Regions from separate parts of the Homo sapiens genome. Here region 2 is linked to region 1. The links are contacts of gene promoters, found by promoter capture Hi-C in blood cells and fetal thymus (Javierre and others, 2016). All regions are on one chromosome and are shown on one strand. The core of a region is centred on a gene start or on the middle of the fragment in contact, and the rest is flanking DNA. Distances in the headings are between cores, read along the strand shown.

Region 1 (6,308 bases), core at 324-2,823:
GCAAGTAAAACGAGAACTCTTATATTGGCTTTTTAAGGAAGCAGTCTTAACAAAGGCTCTTTTCAGAGCCACCCATGTATTCCTTAAAAGGGCTCACATTTTCTGTGTAAATAGCTATTTTGCAGTTTTCTTTAATAATTTTTCCATTTATAAGTGGGTGTTCTTAACACTGAATCGTGAAACTAACCGTCCATTTTAAAGATGCCATAAAAATACATAAGCAAATTGGCGGGGCGCGGTTCCTTACGCCTGTAATCCCAGGACTTTGGAAGGCCAAGGTGGGCGGATCACAGGGTCAGGAGTTCCAGGACAGCCTGACCAACATGGTGTGAAGCCCCGTCTTTACTAAAAATAAAAAAATTTGTCGGGCGTGGTGGCGCGCGCCTGTAATTTCAGCTATTTAAGAGGTTGAGGCAGGAGAAAATGTTGAACCCCGGAGGCGGAGGTTGCAGTGAGTCGAGATCGCGCCACTGCACTCCAGTTTCGGCGACAGAGCGAGACTGTCTCAAAACAAACAAAAACCCAAAAAAGCAAACTAATTAAAATGCAAAGAGACTTTATGTCACATGTAATTTAAATCGATCAATGCAGCGGCTCGTTAGGATTGCAAAGCTGTTAAAAGGCCTGAGACATACAGGAGAGAAGTTAATGTTTGTCAGTGTTTACATTTACATAAAAATATAGTTAGTGACTTAAAGCAACAGAACCAGAACAAATGTTTTATTGTCTTTTGTATGCATCTTAATGATACGAAATAACCTGTAATTTGTAAGTATTTTTTGGGTTTGTTTTTGCAAGCCACTTTCAACTCTACTGAGCTAACCCTAATTAATTATCAATAGGAATACAAACCTACATCCCCTGGAGCCAGACGGCCCTTAGGTGGAGCTTCTTAGCACAGTGTTCAGCATGACTAAAAGGGCACACTGGTCTTTTTGTGCCATTTATAAATTTGGCTTTTTTTTTTTTTTTTTTTTACAGCAGATTACACAAATACCAGTTGAACTTGTAAAAGATAAGAGTGCTTTCATATGAGGATGACATATTGTGGTGAAATTAAATGTGTTCATGTAGCTTAACATCAGGTTTCATATTGTTACTTATGAGTTAATAGTCATGGTGCATTTGGAACAAATTATTGAAAATATCTCCAAGTTTAAATAGACAAATCAAGATATGAAATTAACCTTTCTAAACTTAAGAGGGTAAAAAGAAATCACTTGGCCAATCACAACTAGCGCGCGTCTTTTTAAAACGTTGATCAAAGCCAGTTTCAGCGCCAACATTTAAAAAAAAATTAAGACACGTCATCCTAGTAGCTAGACACAATTTTGCCAAGGAAAACCAAAGTACGTTTTAAATAAAAGCTAGAAACATGGCACAGAGGGGAAAGGGTTGAAAACACCAGCAGTTAAAGATGGACGGAGGAAAGTTTTAATATTTGGTCTACATGCAGGAGATGTTCTGTCAGGGAGTGGGCGTCTCCACCAATCGAGCTGCAGGGGAAAGGCTGCCTTGTCCAATCAGAACAGGGGTGTCTTTATATATACGGGTACGAAAGGCTAGACTTTCGTTTTTTCGTCATTTAGCAGGGTTTAGAAGTTCGCAATGGCTCGTACCAAGCAGACTGCTCGCAAGTCCACGGGTGGGAAAGCGCCACGCAAGCAGCTGGCCACCAAGGCTGCTCGAAAGAGCGCTCCAGCCACCGGCGGCGTGAAGAAGCCCCACCGTTACCGGCCCGGCACGGTGGCTCTGCGCGAGATCCGCCGCTACCAGAAGTCGACCGAGCTGCTGATTCGCAAACTGCCATTCCAGCGTCTAGTCCGTGAGATCGCGCAGGACTTCAAGACTGATCTGCGTTTTCAGAGCTCGGCGGTGATGGCGCTGCAGGAGGCCTGCGAGGCCTACCTGGTGGGGCTGTTTGAGGACACCAACCTATGCGCCATTCACGCCAAGCGAGTGACTATCATGCCCAAGGACATCCAGCTTGCTCGCCGCATTCGTGGGGAGAGGGCGTAAATTGTCTTGTGAATGTGTGCTAACCAAAACCCAAAGGCTCTTTTCAGAGCCAACCACCTTTTCTATAAAAGTTGCTGTTTACTGTTGCTGTCCGTAAACTGGAACCTCTGTTCACTCAAGGTAAGTAAGCATTCTTGCCTCTATCCGTTCCCCCTCCCCTCACGGAATTGGTGCAAAAAGCTTTATTATAATTGGGGAGTTCTTAAAACAGCCTTTAAGGTACTCTTATATCTCCTTGTTTTGGGGGCCGCTTTCTTAGGCTTGGATGCCTCCGGCTTGGGAACTTTCTTGGCCACCTTTGACCAACCAACCTTCTCCAGCAGCCTCCACCAGCAAAAGCTTTTGGGGTCCGCTTAGTACTCTTTTTCGGAATAAGGACGCCCCAAGCTTTCTTGGGCCTCTCGGCTGCCAGGACAGCTGTCTTGGGCATGACTGCAGCGGCTTTTCTGGCCTCGGTCTTGATTTTCCTAACACTGCCTGGTTTGGCGGGAATGAACCTGAGGCGCTGCACTCCTTAGCACGAAGATGCCCTCGTTTGTTTTCAAGGCCCAACTTTATTCAAATAATTTTTAAAAATTTGTATTTATTTTTAGGGACGAGGTCTCACTGTGTTACCCAGGCTGGCCTCAAAACTCCTTAGCTTGGCCAGGCGAGGTGGCTCAGGCCTGTAATCACAGCACTTTAGGATGCCAAGGCGGGCGGATCACGTGATGCCAAGAGTTCGAGACCAGCCTGCCCAACACATTGAAACTTCGTCTCTACTGAGAATACAAAAATTAGCCGGGTGTGGTGGCACACGCCTGCAGTCCCAGCTACATGGAAAGCTGAGGCAGGAGAAGGGCTTGAACCCGGGAGGCGGAAGTTGCAGTGAACCGAGATCACACCACTGCACTCCAGCCTGGGCAGCAGAGCTAGACTCCTTCAAAAAAAAAAAAAAAATCCCCAAGGACAAACAAAACCACCAAAAACAACTCCTTAGCTTAAGAGATTCTCCCGCCTTGGCCTCACAAAATGCTGAGATTACAAACGTAGGCCACCGCGACCGGCAAGGGCCGATCTTCATATCGTAGCCGCCAACACCTACTTGAGCGCGGCCACAGAGAAGGCCGCTGCGCTTCTTGGAGACGGCTAAGTCATTAGTGATGAACTCACATACCGGAGGGGCCTGGACATCTTGCACTTCACTGCAACTTCGGACTTGCAACCTTTTTCTTTACTTCAGTCTTTGACTTGGGAGATAGACCAGGAGTCACGGCATGTACAGTTTCGGACATGATTGTAGGTTTGGATATCTAACAGTTAAAAAAAAAAAAAGTCAGGCTGCGAGTGTGTCTGTGATTACGTGTGTGTCACACACAGACACGCTGCGCGCTGATTGGTTCCCAGCTCAGTCTTTCAGCTTGGCAGCAACCTAGTCTCAACCCTGTTTCTGAGTTGTGTTTGCGGAAATTCAGAAAATCAAAATAGTTTAAATTTCCTGAGGAGGAATCACACCAATTCTATTCTACAATGAACTGGAACGGCTACGGTGTTATGATCTTTACATTTTCTTTCTCTAGTTTTTACTTAAGGCAGCCTCGGCCTTTATCAAAAGTTCCAACTTTCAGAGATTCACAGTTCAGAGGGACAACTTCTTGATTTTCATTTAAAATATAAATTCTTCCATTCGTGTCTTCAATTGTTTGCTGTCTTCTAATAATAGCCTACACATTTTTGGCTTCTCATACATTGAACAACTACTTGATTTTCATTGAGATTTAACGAGGAAATCTGTTTTATATGAGAAGAGAAACAACAGGTTCTTTTTGAATTTCTCCACAAGAACAGCAGTACGGATACTTAGAACAACAGCCCTTTCTGATAAAATTAGCTGGGGCTGAAAATATTTCATGATAGCTTCTTGTAACTATTTGGACGTTTAGTTACTTTGGGAGGGTTCCAGTAAATGTTCAACGTTTCCTTGGGAAAATGGGAAATACAATGATCACTGATTCTCCTGATATTGGGACTGTTTGCATAGCTGAACTCAGGAGAGATCCACGAAAGGACATAAAAGAGACAGAGTTTGACTCATTTAAGGGTCAAAAAAAAATTTTTTTTTTAAATTTTTACTGGGGGAAATTTGTTATTAAAATATTCATGAGTCTTTGGGTTCAGGGGTCTGTCATGCTTGGTGACACGGGGAAAATAGACTTTGGTAAACTATTCAAGTACCAGGATCAAAGAATATACACACAAGCACCACACACACACAAAATTCCCTAGAGAGAGAAATTTAAAAAACAGCCATGTTTCATATTCAGTACTACATTTCTTGTTTAAACAAGGATATAGGCTTATAGTGATGAAGTACAGCTTATGTTCGATATGAGAAGAAAATGGAGTGATGGCAGAAAGTGAATTAACTGATTTTCTTCACTCCTCAATGTCTTGAACGTATGCTGATCTGGGGAGCATATACATTTCTGTTTTACTAAGACTATGAAGGAGATAAATGCTGGGAACAGACAGAGTAAAGCCCAAAAGGTGAGGGTTTCACACTTTTTGATCTCATCAAAATACAAATGACTTCATGTAGCAAATTAAACTAGGACATGAACAAATTAATAAATGTTAATAAAAATTAAAATCAAATGTTTGAGATGAGACATGAGCTAAATATGAATCACATTTACTTTGAGTGTGTATTCACTTTTTATGGAGCCCATGTATTTCTAATCTTAAAATGGCTTTGACCCATTTTATATTTATATTTTATACTTATATTTGATTTCCTGGAGCACCAACAAAGGAAGAACTGACTTGTAGCCTTCCAACTGCAGGAATTCTCTGAGGTACTGTCCTATTTGCCTTCATGGGTTTGTGAGTTAGTTTCTTACAGGTAACTAAAGTCTCTCCCTTCAGGCCTGTCCTCTTGCCTAAGTATCAAAGTTGGATTTCTGGATGGTTGCTGGATATCTGCTTGTTCATCTTCTATACCAGACTCTCAGTATGACCATCCTTATCTAAGTAGCTTCTGTCTAAGATTGCTGGATATTGGCTTCATTGTTTACGTATATCACACCCTCAACATATCCAACCACATCTAGGAAGCAACCTTTCAAGTGACATTCCTATATATTCTGTTCACAACAACACTATTGCTTTGTTAACTGACACTTCAATTATTCCCTTTCCTTTGTTGCCAAATCCAATCTGTTACTAAGTTTGGTGAATTCTTCCTAAATTCATCTTTCCTTGTTTATTTGCCTTTTCATGGTTGTAATTCTTGCTCTTCTATCTCTTCTTTGGACTGGCTATTTTTATAGCCTTCTTATGGGTGGCTCCTTTCTCTCATCCCTTTGTGCTGTCATTCATTCTCTTCATTGCTCTGGGTGAAATATTCTTCATATGAGCTTCAAATTTATATGCCCCATCTCCTTGTAGCTTTATGTTTTCTTCACTTAACTGGTTTTCTCTATTCTTATAAGCCGTGAAGAAAAAGCTGGATTCATATAGCTTTAGATTTAAGAATAATCTTAGTATGGCAATCAAACTCTTTTATATGGCCTTAAATCAACAATCTGGCAGTGTGGTTTAGTAGAAGCATGGAATTTGCAAACATGATGACATGTATTTCAGTCTTGTTTTGCCCCTTAGCAGCTATGTGATCTTGGTCTAATTATATTACCTTGCAGAGTATCTTTTTTCAGTTTTTTTCTTCTTTTTTTCTCTCTCCCCCACCCTGTTTTAAACTTCAAACTAATCTAATGACATACTTTGAAATTTTTATATTTTTCATTCCCCATCTCTCAAAATAGATGAGATCTCTCTCTGTTTTGAATTCTTACATTGATGTCTTTCTTTTTTTTCTCTTTTTGAGATGGACTCTCACTCCGTTGCCCAGCCTGGAGTGCAGTGGCGTGATCTTGGCTCACTGCAACCTCCGTCTCCCAGGTTCAAGCGATTCTTCTGCCTCAGCCTCCTGAGTAGCTAGGACTACAGGCGCGCGCCACCACGCCCAGCTAATTTTTGTATTTTTAGTAGACACTAGTGACAGGGTTTCACTGTATTGGCCAGGCTGATCTCTAACTCCTGACCCTGTGATGTGCCCGCCTCCGCCTCCCACAGTGCTGCAACTAGAGGCATGAGCCACGGCACCAGGCCCCCTACATCGATTTCGTAAAAGGCCATTATAATCTGTCTCGTATTATCTGCATACTTGTCCACTTTTAAATCTTCCTAGTAGTTTACAAACATCTAAAAGTACAGATTAGTATTATAGTACGGCATACAAATATTTATGTAAA
Region 2 (5,865 bases), core at 541-3,040, about 10 Mb before region 1:
GGTCAAGAGTTCGACACTATCTTGGCCAACGTGGTGAAACCCTCGCTCTACTAAAAATACAAAAAATAGCCAGGTGTGGTGGTACATGCCTGTAATCCCAGCTACTCAGGCGGCTGAGGCAGGAGAATCACTTGAACCCAGTAGGCAGAGGTTACAACGAGCCAAGATCACACCATTGCACTCCAGCCTGGGGGACAGAGCAAGACTCTGTCTTGAAAAATAAAATAAGCTTGTTTCCCAGTTTCAAATTAAAATTTCAATTAATTTCAAATTAAACAAATAGGATTTTCTAAAGTACCAATTCACAAGGAAGTCAAATTCTATTTTATCACCTAATTGTTAGAGCCAGTCTGATTACTGAGCTCAATGTTAATTTGTTAACAGTTGCAATTTAAGTGTGAAGATCCATTTATCCTTGAAAAACAAGTTCTCCTGTATCTTCATTATGATTTCTTCCCTTGAAGTCCCTGCACTTATTTCAGTTATTTACCAGGCTGTATTTATTGGTCTCCCCCTGCCCCACTCCAAGTAAAAAATCAGTTCAAGACAAGACAGAACCATTTTGGCCATTTTACAGCACCCTCTCCCCTCAACAGTCAGCACAGAAGAAATTATAGCTGTGGCCAGGTGAGGTGGCTCATGCCTGTAATCCCAGCACTCAGAGAGGCTGAGGCAGGAGGATGGCTTGAGCCCAGGAGCTTGAGGCCAGCCTGGGCAACACAGACTGTCGTCTGTATTATTTTTTAAATAATAAATATACATTTTTTTAAAAAAAGAAATTATAGCTCACAGTAGTAAAAAAAAAAAAAAAAGACCATTATTCCTCACCCTTAATACAACCAGTCATTAAATTTAGATAAGCTATCATATTTGAAGAGTGACTGGGAAGAGGTGGGCCCTGGAAAACTTTACTACAACCTGCTTGAATTGACCAACCTTTCATGCAGCTTTACAGTGAACACTCAGCTCCTTTTTCCCATTATACTTCCAAATATGAGGAAAGGGGGGTGGGGGCATGGAGGTCAATACTCAGGCCTTACTCAGCCAGCTAACAGGACACTATTAACACAAAGGGAAATAGTAAGTGATTCACTTTCTGGAGTATTTCAAACACATAAAAGTAAAGGTACAACCAACCCATGTAACCATTTTGTAAACAATTTTTTAAACAAGGATCAGTTCACAACTACTCTTAAAAATATTTGATCCTGGCTGGGCACAGTGGCTCCCACCTGTAATTCCAGCACTTTGGGAGGTCAAGGCGGTCAGATCACCTGGGGTCAGGAGTTCGAGACCAGCCTGGCCAACATGGTGAAACCCCATCTCTGCTAGAAATACAAAAATCAGCCCCGCATGATGGCACACGCCTGTAGTCCCAGTTACTCAGAAGGCTGAGGCAGGAGAATCACTTGAACCCCGGAGGCCGAGGTTGCGGGGAGCGGGAGACTGTACCACTGCACTCCAGCCCAGTGACAGTGCAAGACTCGTCTCCCCACCAAAAAAAAAAAAAAAAAAAAAGATCCCAATTGTATCTAAAGATACAATTGGCCAGTGATTGGGAAAGCCATCTAAGAGCCACATATCCTGTAGATTTTAAATATGAAAAACACAAGCAACACATTTTTATCAGCGTAATCATTAAATCACCTTCCATCTAGCTCTCGGACTGCATCAGCTGCATCTCGGGGATCTTCAAATTCAACAAAAGCAAAGCCGGGTGGGTTTCTAGCAACCCACACACTTCGGAGTGGTCCATAGTAGCCAAAAGCCCGTTCCAATTCCGTCTTGTTGCCATTGTTTCCAAGATTGCCTACATAAACCTTACAGTCCAATGGACAGGAATCACGATGCATTTCTGTAATGAAAAATACCAAAAATATTCATTCATCTAAACATCTACAGTTAAAACCACAGATCCTTAGAAAGAACTCCATTAGAGAGGACAAGAGAGTTTAAGGTAGCACGTAAAGAAAAAAAAATTACAAAAATGCTAGAAACCAAACAAGAAATGTTACTGCTAAGCACCCATTTCCCCCCCCCCGCCACCCCGCCCCATTATCTTTACTCCTAACCCTCAGGAAGCCAGCAATTAGTGAAGAAAAAAACAGCTTCCTTGGAACGTTGAGAACAACTGGAGGAGCATTTACCACCATCTGGGCCGTGAGTTAAGAGACTTAACCTGTTATTTCATTTAATCCCCAAAATAAAGCATTTCTAGAAAAACAGAAGAGAATTCTGTTGGGGACTCAAAACTAAATAAAACAATGATGAAGAAAGCTAGTCCTTAAGGTTATACTACCAGGCAAGCGATTCAAAGTACCTACATAAGCCAAAACTTACCAGCTTTAATAAAAATAAGGCCAACGATTTTCACTTTTAAAAAAATGCCCATGGACCGGGCGCGGCGGCTCACACCTGCAATCCCAGAACTTTTGGGAAGCCGAGGCGGGCGAATCACGAGGTCAGGAGTTCGACCCAGCCTGGCCAATATGGTGAAACCCCGTCACAACTAAAAATACAAAAATTAGCCGGGCATGGTGGCGCACACCTGTAGTCCCAGCTACTCGGGAGGCTGAGGCAGAACAATCGCTTGAACCCGCGAGGCGGAGGTGGCAGTGAGCCGAGATCGCGCCACTGCACTCCAGCCTCGGCGACAGAGCGAGATTCCATCGCCAAAAAAAAACCACAAATAAATAAATAAATAAATGCCTATTTTGGTCATTTGGAACTATAGGAACAAGGCTAGTATCAAATGTCATTAGATAGACCAGAGTCTTACGCGGTAAAAATTTATCAAGCAACGAGACCAACTTTACAGTTTTTTAAAAAATGTAAACTCATAGTAGCACTTATTCACAGTAGCCCAAAGATGTTAACCCAAATGTCCATCAACAGAAACGGATAAGCAAAATGTGGTATAGACATAAAATGAGTATTATTCAGAATGATGTACTGACAAATCCTCCAACGTTGGAAAATCTTGAAAACATTACGCTAAGTTAAAGAAGCCAGACATAAAAGTACACGATTCCATAAATACTAAATATCTAAAATAGCTAAGTTCAGAGAGACAGGAAGATTAGTGGTTGCTAGGGACTAGAGGAAGGGGGACAGGGAATCTGGGAGTAAGTGCTCAATGGGTAGTAGTCTCCTGCGGGGGGAGGTGACGGAAATGTTTTGGAACTACGTGTAAGTGATGATTACACAACACTGAATATACTAAATACCACTTAAAGATAATTTCACTTTAATAAAAAATTACAAAGAGATATTTGCTACTAAAAAATTTACTGCACTTTGGGGACTTATTTTTTTGTTCTTCCTTGGCGGACTTGTATTTGATAAAGCTTTATTACTGAGTCACTTCGACGATGAATCTGATAAACTTGTAGACCAGTTTCAATTACATAAAAACCATCTACTCAATAATTCAGCTGAAGTGCTTTCCATAAACACCACGTTCTTCTTACTCTGGGCTTGTCTAATTAAAATATCCAGTCCAGACACATCCTATTTGCCGTGACCACACCCTGTGCCCAGGAGTAAGTTCTAAGACCAAACCACTGGTGAAAATTTTTAAAAACACTGCTGGCACCTGTCTTAAGCCTCCATTTTAATGGGAAGCGATGAAAGAACGAATCTTAAGTTCAAGGAAGATCTTTCGGTCTTAGAAAAAGGTGATTAGATTCAGGCTGCAAAATCTGAAACTACATGAAAGTAAGGTGACTACGGGGGCCATTTAATATGAACTGAAAGGTCCGGTCTTGGTTAGTGACTTTACAAAAACATTCTGAGAAGCTTCCCAATTAAATGAGGGGCCAAAAAAAAAAAAGGCGCCATAAAAATAAAAAGGCCGTGACCTGGAATACAACTCGGCTATCGGCTCCCCTTTGTGGTTCCCAACTCCCAGGTAACCCCCATCCTGGCTCATGCCCCAATGAGGAATATAAAGACTTCCACTCCAAGACTAGGAAACCCTCCGATGGGCCGGGAGCCCCCGCCACCGCCCCGTGCTGAACGTCACAAAATGGCGGCGGCGCCTCTTTGTCTCAATCTGGCGCCGCCATTGGGCCTGGCTCCTTGGTACTGTTAAATTCCATTTCCACCTCATTCCCTCTTTCGCTGGTCTCTTACCGAGATCTAGGGTTAAAAAATGCGGCGGCTCAAATCCACACGCTCCGATGAGTCTTCCCGCTTTCCTCCGGCCCAACACCAACCAACTCTCTCACTCACCCGGCGTCCACGAAATGGCGGACCACCGCCTTCTCCTCGCCTTTATTTATACGCCATACTGGAATCACATGATTGGACGGGCTCCCCCAATGAGAAGCAGAAGAGGCCGTGACGTATGGCTACAAACGCAGCGAGAGCCGCGGTTGCTGGGAGCGCGCTCTGGCGGTTGCGCCGGGTGGGTGGAGACGTGCGTCGGCGCGCGCTCGTTGTAACAGGCCTGGTGCTCCCTCGAGCGTTCCTCCCGGTCTGTCGACCTCCAGGTTACCCACAGACTCCTCTTCCTCACCTCCAAATAGGCTAGGGCTTCATAAACAGCACCGTCGCCGTCACGCTCAAACACTAATAGGAGCCGTTGGCCCCTAACAAGATTAAGAGATGAATTAATTAAGTGCTTCACCCTTGTGAGCGGTTAGTCTGGAACTAAGAGCATCGCGTTTACAAACAGGTCACGGAGCTGTTTGTGACCCAGCTGGCACCAGACTGTGGCCGCCTAGATTCCACACTGAAGGAAAAGCCTGGTTTGGAAAGTTTGCCCAACTCTTGCTGGTTTCTCGTCTCTCAAGCAAACTTGCAGGACTTGGCGCCGACAGCAAAGGAGACCGGTCAGGTGACCTGGAAACTATCACCTTTAGCAAACACCCGGAAAGGGAAGTTTCTGAAGAAGATTGAATGTAAATTCTGGCCCCCAAGCAAATGCCAGGAGGGGTATCTCGAGCCTTTCTCCTAGCAGCCGTTGCACTGCCTGGCATGTATTTTGTCCGGGCCACTTCCCTTACGAAGACAGAGCCGCAAGAGTAATTAAGGGGAGAGAGACTGTGATTGGGTTAGAAAAATCACCAAGGGCCGGGCGCGGTGGCTCATGCCTGTAATCCCAGCACTTTGGGAGGCCGAGGCAGGCGGATCACTTGAGGTCAGGAGTTCAAGACCAGCCTGGCCAACATGGTGAAATCCCGTCTCTATTAAAAATACAAATGGCCGGGCATGGTGGCAGGCGCCTGTAATCCCAGCTACTTGGGAGGCTGAGAGCAGGAGAATCGCTTGAACCCAGGAGGCGGAGGTTGCCGTGAGCTGAGATCCTACCACTGCACAAAAAAAAAAAGAGAGAAAAAGAACCTGTCTTTTTATTTATTCCCTCTTAGCTGAAAGATATGCCAATTATTATGTTTTTTTTTTTCTTTTTTCTTTTTTTTTTTTTCTTGAGATGGAGTCTCGTTCTGTTGCCCAGGCTGGAGTGCAATGGCGCGACCTCGGCTCACTGCAAACTCCGCCTCCCGGGTTCAAGCGATTCGCCTACCTCAGCTTCCCGAGTAGCTGGGATTACAGGCACCTGCCACCACACCCGGCTAATTTTTGTATTTTTAATAGAGACGGGGTTTCACCATGCTGGTCAGGCTGGTCTCGAACTCGCCACCTCAGGCGATTCTCCCGCCTCGGCCTCCCAAAGTGCTGGTATTACAGGCGTGAGCCACAGCACCCGGCCAGCCAATTAATATGTTTTAACTTTCCCAGGTATTTTTCTTTTGAAGCCTTACCTCTTATTGTGGTTCTAAAAGGTTTATCTGTAGTGGAGGAAAAAAATACAGATTTATTACATCTCAGCCTAGTTTCCTCACCTGTAAAAGGGGAGAAGGG

What was found. Contacts are between HindIII fragments. The CHiCAGO score rates a contact against its expected background, and 5 or more counts as called.
Region 2: a contact is called between a fragment that was not itself captured here and the fragment with the promoter of H3C4 in region 1, in 1 of 17 cell types (fetal thymus). The highest score is 6.7, in fetal thymus.

What each region holds. Positions count from the first base shown.
Region 1 is chr6:26,192,551-26,198,858 of GRCh38, reverse strand. It overlaps H3C4 (H3 clustered histone 4), which reads left to right and starts at 1,573. Exons shown (of 1, transcript NM_001376937.1): 1 at 1,573-2,075. The coding sequence starts at 1,609. The coding sequence ends at 2,019. H2AC7 (H2A clustered histone 7) reads left to right here. Exons shown (of 1, transcript NM_021065.3): 1 at 1-75. The coding sequence ends at 8. It also overlaps the pseudogene H1-12P. RefSeq lists enhancers at 352-411, 442-501, 1,244-1,844, 2,223-2,332, 1,845-2,446 and 4 more. The HindIII fragment of the contact is 2,796 bases long and covers 1-2,201 here.
Region 2 is chr6:36,592,751-36,598,615 of GRCh38, reverse strand. SRSF3 (serine and arginine rich splicing factor 3) reads right to left here and starts at 4,254. Exons shown (of 6, transcript NM_003017.5): 1 at 4,135-4,254; 2 at 1,648-1,855. The coding sequence starts at 1,853. RefSeq lists enhancers at 950-1,450, 1,451-1,951, 3,967-4,196, 3,797-4,478, 4,587-4,746. The HindIII fragment of the contact is 3,118 bases long and covers 232-3,349 here.